2 separate regions of the Homo sapiens genome follow, and region 1 is linked to region 2. The links are contacts of gene promoters, found by promoter capture Hi-C in blood cells and fetal thymus (Javierre and others, 2016). All regions are on one chromosome and are shown on one strand. Each heading gives the region's core, a stretch centred on a gene start or on the middle of the fragment in contact. The rest is flanking DNA. Distances are from core to core; before and after follow the strand shown. Region 1 overlaps LOC105374226 (a long non-coding RNA gene). Region 2 holds the start of PIK3CA (phosphatidylinositol-4,5-bisphosphate 3-kinase catalytic subunit alpha).

Region 1 (3,836 bases), core at 709-3,208, 4.7 Mb after region 2:
AGGCTTTACCAGCACTCACTTGCCTGTTAATATCAGTTGCTTCAGACTTGAAGTGTAAGAATTGGAGGGAAAGAAAATGGCAGGTAGGTCATTATGTTTCTTACATTTTCTGTTTATCTCTATTGTAGGTATTTTATGAAATAATAAAAAGCATCCTAAAGATTTTTAGAAGTAGGAATACTTATATTGTAACAGTTTTAAATTACTGATATTAGTGGTATCAATATTGTGTTAGATTAAATTGTCATCCACAGATATGCACTTCCTTATCCCTGAAGGAGGGGTATATATCCATGCCAATTGCTAGGTGAGTTGCAGTGCTTCCCCATGTGAACAATATACATACCTATACTATTCATGCTATGCTTGATCATGCGGGTGATATGTGCCACATCCAAGCAGGAGTTTTGAGAACCATGTAATAACAGTGTGTCCCAAATAGGGGCTCAGCCCCACATCCTACTCACAGTGACCCTCAGTTGATATGAAATGCAAGTAACTCATAAACATTTGTTTGTGTAAGCCACTAAAATTGTGGAATTATCCTTTACCTCAAATCCAATCTGACTAATATAATCATTATTATTGTACATGAATCTGGAACTTAAGAATAATGTATAAGAATGAGTGATATTGACTAGGGAGGGGATGTAGTAGGATGAGAAAACAGGAGCATCAACAATCACCAACATTTAAGGAGTGCAGAGAGGAACTAGATGCTGCAAAGGACACTGATAAAGAGCGGACTGAGTTGTAGAAGGATCAGAATAAAAACCAGAGTATTTTTCATGGAAGCTGACTAGTAAGGCTTTCATCAGAAAAACATAAGCATAAACACCTCTAATTATTTTAATCAGAAAGATTTGTTATAACTTATTAGAAATTTGGACAATTGCTGTTAATAATCGCAGCTGACTACATGTTTGCAGAAGCCGTTACTGGTGCCCATTGATTCCAGAAAAATAATTGATTTTTGCTTCCTCTCTTTCAAATCTCAAGCAAGTTCTCATTGTTAGAATGTAAATTACTGCAAAATTCTGGTGGGAAAGGAATTTGAAAATTTTAATTCCTGGTGTTTCTAGCTCCAACAATAATTAGAAGAGAGTAGAAAGGAGTGAGGATGAATGTTTACTGAAAAAAAAAATCTAGCACAAAAGCCAATAGAGGAAAGGATTTCGGAAAAAGAAGAAAAGTGCCAATGAGGCCAAATAACTTAAAGAGGTAAAATACTATATGAACTAGAAGTAGCCATTAGAATTATGAACTAGAGGGATTATTGGAAATCATTTCCAAAATAATTATATTGAAAAGTTATATATGAAAATCTTCTTTGAATGACTTTAAATGGATATGAGAAATGAAAAAACATCGACCACTCTTTCAAGATAGGAATAGAAATAAGGATAAGGAGAGAAAGAAAAGGGGTGGCAAAATAAAGAAAAGAGATGATGCAGGATCAAGAAAAAATAATTTTAAAGTGATCGAGACTCACTCATGTTTCAGGTAGAGAGGAAGTAGTAAATAGAGAAGGAAGCGCTGAAGGTACCAACAAGAATACAGTTAATGTAGCAAGTCCCAGAAGAAAATGCATGTGTATAGGAATCAGATTACAAGTAGTAGGCTAACCTCTAAGAGAAGGTGGGATGCCAGCATCCTCTAAGACTTAATTAAGGGAAAGAGATGAAGATGGGCATAATTGTAGATATCCTTGTAGCTAAGAAAACGAAATAGAATGTAAGGAATTTATGCACAAATGATGTTTCTTTTTCTCATAAAAAGGAGGGCAGAGTTATCTGCTTATCAAATGAACAAAAATAAAAATGAATAGTTCTCAGTGCTGGTGAAGGTATTTTAAACTAGAATCTTACACATTGTTGTTGAGAATATAAGTCATCTATTTTTCTGGTAGTAATATGGCAATCTGGATTGAGAAATTTATGTAAACACTTACCTATAACTGGGCCTATATGTCAATTTTGCCCTGCGCCTGCATTGAAGACAGTTGCAGCATAGTCTTGCTAAGCCAAAACCCCAACAAATTTAAGTACAAATGCATTAGTAAAAAATGCACTGATGAGAATTACATTACAGTCACAATACAAAACTTTCTATAAAGTTTTTGGCTTGGGGAAGGCAAGAAAAACTCTCAAACTAATCTTTTGATGCCCCTTAGAATTGTTATAGACCTTATAAATATACAAATATAAAGAAATGGAAAGTTTGAGTGAAGTCACATAGTGCTTCTTTTTACCTTCTCATATCATCCTTAAGTACTCAATAGACCCAAGTTCAAAAGATGGTACATAATCACCAGATGTCCAAAGCACTTCTCTCTAGGTTAAGAGGCAGATTTTCTAGACAGCTATGAATGCTAGAACTTGATGGACTGCATACCTAGGACATGCAGACAGTGGCTTAAGAACTTCTTCCGGATCACCAGACTAGTCTACAGCTCTACTAATAGGACAAATGTATGTGTGGGACAGATTTTTTTAAAAGCAGCAATAATAACATTGTATGCTTGTTGCACATCAGGAACTATTCCAACTACTTTACATGTGTTAACTCACTTATTTCTAAAAATAACCCTTTTGAGATATTTATATTGTCGTCTGCATTTTACAGATGGTGCAACTGATCTGCAGAGAAGCTAATTAACTTGCCCAAAGTTATGGAGCTAAGGAATGGCTTTAGAAAGCAAAAGAAAAATTTTTTATTAAGAAATGAAAAGAAAAAAGACGCAGTATGGTGAGGCCCTATGTACAATTTATTCTACATAAGAAGGTGGTGGGGATCAAATGCAGTATGCATTCATTGAATAAACAACAGTATATGTTGTTGGTCTTTCCTCAGTGCTATGTTAACTCTCCTGTTCTTTGTCATTATGGTCTAAAAGAACCTTGATCATGTGGACATATTACAAAATAATGTATTGGTACACTAGATTTATGACATCTTATTAACGGAAACTGATGAGCAATAGATGGAAAATACTCTGGGTACCTTGTTAAAATATATGTTTCAAGAGGTGGGAGATAAACTCTATAAAGTTTCAAGGACATGATACTTCGCTGAAGTTTTTAGTGATCTTGTCATCCAGGGCATCTCTTCCAAAGTAAACAACAATTTATCGCACTACTCACCAATACGGAATAAGTACAAATCTTAGTGAGTTCATTTGGATTTTAGAAGTAGCATATTTTGCACCTGAAATGCTGCCCAAAACCTTCTGTTGGATGGTTTGGGAGTCTGCTAGTTTTGAGTGCAAACTCAGAGTAAGTAAGGGCTCTGACTGTGGGCTCTGACATGTTCTGACTGTGGTATAGGTAGATCTGCTTGGACCATATAACCCATCATATACGAAGGTATTAGAGAAAGATGCTCTCTCGAGCCTCTAGCAAAAGTGAAAAGCAGAGTCAAAGTGTACACTCTTACATTCCAGAGCAAGGGCATGCCACCTGTACTGGCTACCAGTTGATTTATTTTTAGCTTCAAATTTTTGTATTTGCCTGCTCTGCATTAATGGAGCTAAGTCCTTTAAATATTTAAATATTTTCCTTTGGGGACCGGGAGTGGTGGCTCATGCCTGTAATCCCAGCACTTTGGGAGGCTGAGGCTGGCGGATCATCTGAGGTCCAGAGTTCGAGACCAGCCTGGCCAACATGGCAAAATCCCGTCTCTACTAAAAATATAAAAAAGTAGCTGGACATGGCAGTGGATGCCTGTAATCCCAGCTACTTGGCAGGGTGAAGAGGGAGAATCACTTGAACCTGGGCAGCGGAGGTTGCTGTGAGCCAAGATCGCACCACTGCACTTCAGCCTGGGTGACAGAGCAA
Region 2 (4,307 bases), core at 1,331-3,830:
AGTTACCTCTCTTCAAATAAACAGATCAACAGAGCAAGTGCCCTTTAAATGGTAATCGTAACTGTTTAAAACTCTTTATTCAGTAAAGGGTACTTATAAGAAGCGGCACACAAAGTAAACTGGTTTAGAGAAAAAGTTATTACAGTCTACTTTATGTTGTGCATTATTTATAAGTTTGGGTTTTTTCTTTGGTTTTTTAAGGGGATACTGATTTGGGATGGAGAGGACCTTATCCTGACAGGAAGGAAGCTCTGCCACCAGAAAGGCTGTTCCACGCACAGAGCAAGCAAAACCACTGCACTTTTAGTCTCCCTTTTAAATATATCAAGGCCCATGACAATTTACACTTCCATGAAGCCATTTTTCAGTTTAAGTACAATATTTGTATTTAGTAACATCTCTTTAATGCTATAACCAATTTAGTTAAATTTTTTTAACCTTAAATAAAAACACTCTTCTATATTTACAGGTGTTTCATTTTTAATTATTTAAAACTGACAGGAATGTCTTTAAAACTTTATACGCACAATCATGCAATATTAATATTCCTTTACTTTCTTGTTATTTCCCCCATGATGCTATTATTACGATATGCTATCATTTTTAAATAAACTATTTTGTGATTTTAATAGGAAAGTACTCTAGTTTGAAAAAGCACAAGAAACTTTTGAAAAAAGCTATGAAGTTTTATTTTGTCCCAAAATGTGAGATGAAAAAACTTAAGCAAAATACCAACACACACACACACACACACACACACACACACGTAAACACACACAGTCCTCTTCAGATAATTTTGGCTGATGACACTGCAGAACAGTTAATCTGATAATTAAAAATTTCCAGAACATGTGATGTTTAGATGGAGATCTATGCTGTCAATCGGACCTCAGTGCTTCAGTTAAAAGGAAAAAAAAAAAACACCAAAAACTTAAAACCTGAATACAAAGACACGTTAAATTGTTAAGACTGTAGTTGCTTTGAAAGCAAAGTGTTTTGATTTATCCAAACTAACTTAGCAACACGGTATTTTGAGTATTTTCCAGAAGTTTTCTTAAAACACGCAATCCAGCACATAAACAAATTTTGTACGGTGCAATGTAAGCAAATACTCAGAAAAATTCAATTTCTAAGCAGGATAACATATGACCAATATTGCCCTCAGTGGTTCAAAAGTCGCAGTAGAAATAATCCCCTGAGATAACCTGGAATTTACCTACCCAAGTATTCTAAGGGGTTCTCCCCGGCCACACAAACTATGATTCAAAACATCGTTCCGAAAACCCAGGTCCTGCATGTGCACAAAGGCGCAGTGCTGGAATGAGGAAGCTTCACCAAGATGAAATCACAACTCTAATTCATTAAAGAATATGCAGACTGTTTTCTAGAAAGACCCTCTTGTTGCGCTCCCTTTACCCTACCCTTTATTTAACCATGTAAACAGTCTCAATTATTGACATAAAAAAATAGCTTTCGATTCCCAAGTCTGGTAACACGGTTGGCCACCATCACTATTCCTTTAGCATCCTAAAATAAACCCCTCGAGCCGAGGTCAAAAACACGCCGGCTGAACGTCTGGTGTTTACATAGCCCAATCCCGGGCCCTACCCTACCTTTCCGAGCCACTTAAGAGCCATGGAACAGGCATCACATAATACACTTAGTAAAGAGACAAGTCACATGAGTCAGTGTCTCAGGTCTATGAATGAAAGATCTAAGCGTTTGTCTCAGCTAAAAGGAAAAAACAACCTCGAAAGGAAGGGTGGGAGGGGAGCTGGCGGGGGTGAGGGGAGCGGTGTTCCTTCCATACCCCTGCCGGGCGATTTAAACCCAGTAAGAGGCAAACGCAGGGCCGCCAGGCTGGCGGGGCCGGAGTCCTCGGGCGTGACAGCCCCTCAAGAAAAGCTCGCGGTTTCGCGCCCGCGTCCCTTGAGCCGCAGTCCTCGCGGCAGCCCCTCCACCCGCGGGCTGGGTGGGCGTGCAGGGCGCGGGAGACAGAGCCACCGCGGCCGGGGCGGCGGCCCTGGGCGCACTTCCTCAACCTCCAGCCGCCCCGTCCCCAAAACTGGGAGTAGAAGCAAAGGAAGAGCGAGGCGGCAGCCAGAGAGAAAGGAGAGGGAGCGGCGAGCCCTCGCCTCTGCAGCTAGGAGAGGCCAGAGGCAGGCGAGGGAGAGGGTGCGGCGATCGCAGGCGAACTCCGCCGCGGGCCGACGCTGGGAGACGACCAGCCCGTAGCCTCCGCCCAACACGGCGGGCGCGCCCGGGAGTCTCCGGCACCCACCCGGTCCCCATTCCCACCGCACCCGCTACCGGCCAGTCCGCGCTCTACTCACGCTCGGGGCTCTTCCAGGCTCCGCGGCTCTAACCGCATCGGGTCCCAGCCCCGCGGGCGGCGGCGGCGGCGCCGAGGGAGAGGAGAGCGGGCGGCACGGCCCCCGCCTCCCGGCCCCTCTCCCCCGCCGCTCCGGAGCTGCCCGGCCGGGCCCGAGCCCTGCCTCGCCGGCGGCCCCAGCCCCAGTCCCAGCGGCCGCGGCAGCAGCAGCCCGACACCTCAGCGGCCGCAGCGGCGGCACCGGAACTGCCGCTTTCTACTTCTCGCTCCCTCTCCTCGCTAGCCCCCGCCACACGCCCCCGCCCCCGACTCCTTTCTCCGTCGCCCCTGTTTTTTTTTCCTTTTGTTTCCAGAATAAACTTTATTGGTCTCTTTTTCCGCTCACATCGTGTAAACAAACAACGAACTCTTCCCCACCCCCTCGGCCCCCCCCCTCCTCCGGCAGAAGAGGGTAAGAGCTGAGGAGGGGCAGAGCCTACAATCCCCCGGAAGCAGATGCGCAAAGAAGCGGAAGCGAAATTGAGGCGAGGAGGAGCAGGGAGTGGGCAAATAGGGTAACAATATGTGCTACTGCGCCTGCGTCTTGCTTTTCCGCCCGAAGTTTATGTACAGTTGGGGCTGCTCTTCTGACGTTTGTTTAATGATCCGTCTTCTGCAGTAGTGAGGGTGTTGTGTCATCCTAGGACAGCGTACGTGTAGTATATTTGTTTCTACGAGCAGCAGGCGAGCTGGGGTAGAGATATAGAAAGGAATATTGGGAGCAAGTGGGTTATTTCACTTTTACACCCATAGAGGAAACGAGATTAGTTCGGGGGTGAGAGGAGGTGCGGTGGCTAACCGCCGCTGTCAGTGGCTAACCAGCGTGGTTATGGATTCTATAATAGAAAGAATGCTTTTTACAAAGCGTTGCTGTGCGTTCTTCTGCCGACATGGTTTAAGTTGTATACCATCCCGAAGGCGGAATGCACTGTCACAGCCCTCTGCAGTCCTTTGACTCACTTCGTGGAGACCTTTTGCTATGCCCTCATTTTTTTTTTTAAATCGAATTCTGATTCGAAGCAGCTTGTAGGATTCAATTCTAACTATTCAGAAGACGTGGGGGATTTTTCGCGTAATGCCAACAGAGACTTCAGAAATGTCATATAGGCTATAGATTTGATTCAAGGTAGTGTCTTGGTGCTGCGTACCTTAGAAGTCTGTTTGCTTGAGAGTAAATCAATCTGTTGACTTTTGAGATTACTACTGATAAGGGTTCGGTACTGTGCGTTTTTCTCCCCCTACTGGTCTTTTGTTGTAATATTGGAAAAGCGTAGGAGCAGTGATTAGAAGTCTGAGATACAAGTACTCCAGCATCGGTTCCTCCTTGAATTTTTAAGTAATAGAGGGCTTGGGAAGTGACCCATCCTAGAGATGTTACAGTCCTACTTGTCCTCTAGAGCAAAACTCTGACCAATAACAGTCTTCTCGAACACCGCACGTCCGTCCATACCCCAATGGTAAATGAGATGGATCTGTTCCTCTTTGTGGTCGTAGTTTCACTTGACTGTATTTCTTTCTTTTCTGTGTTTTCTTTCTTTCGTCCTTTTTCTCCCTTTAGCTCGGATTTTCATCTCACATTCCAGGGGTTTGTGTTTCTAAATGTTTTTCTCGAACCAATGTTCTTCAACAGTTTTAGAACACTGTTACTCCAGAGTACAGATTTTTTTAAAAAAGGAACACTGAATTGCTAGTCAAAGTAAATTTTAAGGCAATATATCCCAAATTGTGTTTCAAGCACAGAGTTATATGAGATATTAATAGGTAGACCTTGGTGGGGAAAAATATACTAGGGATATTTTTCCTTATAAAATTTATTATTTATTTATTATTATTATTTTTTTGAGCCAGAGTCTCACTCTGTAGCCCAGGCTGGAGTTCAGCGGTGCAGTCTCGGCTCACTGCAGCCTCTGCCTCCCGGGTTCAAGCGATTCTTCTG

What was found. The method cuts DNA at HindIII sites, captures the fragments that hold promoters and counts their contacts. A CHiCAGO score of 5 or more calls a contact.
Region 1: a contact is called between a fragment that was not itself captured here and the fragment with the promoter of PIK3CA in region 2, in 1 of 17 cell types (M1 macrophages). The highest score is 6.2, in M1 macrophages.

The regions. Positions count from the first base shown.
Region 1 is chr3:174,417,972-174,421,807 of GRCh38, reverse strand. LOC105374226 (a long non-coding RNA gene) reads left to right here. Exons shown (of 4, transcript XR_924729.3): 2 at 1-83; 3 at 2,626-2,748. Among named protein-coding and RNA genes, the nearest start is that of NAALADL2, 440 kb to the left of the region's middle. The HindIII fragment of the contact is 4,219 bases long and covers 1-3,836 here.
Region 2 is chr3:179,146,630-179,150,936 of GRCh38, reverse strand. It overlaps PIK3CA (phosphatidylinositol-4,5-bisphosphate 3-kinase catalytic subunit alpha), which reads right to left and starts at 2,580. Exons shown (of 21, transcript NM_006218.4): 1 at 2,334-2,580. PIK3CA-DT (PIK3CA divergent transcript) reads left to right here and starts at 2,964. Exons shown (of 3, transcript NR_125401.1): 1 at 2,964-3,021. RefSeq lists enhancers at 1,106-1,155, 1,717-2,216, 3,026-3,145, 3,756-3,865 and silencers at 1,956-2,005, 2,066-2,535. The HindIII fragment of the contact is 3,906 bases long and covers 1,332-4,307 here.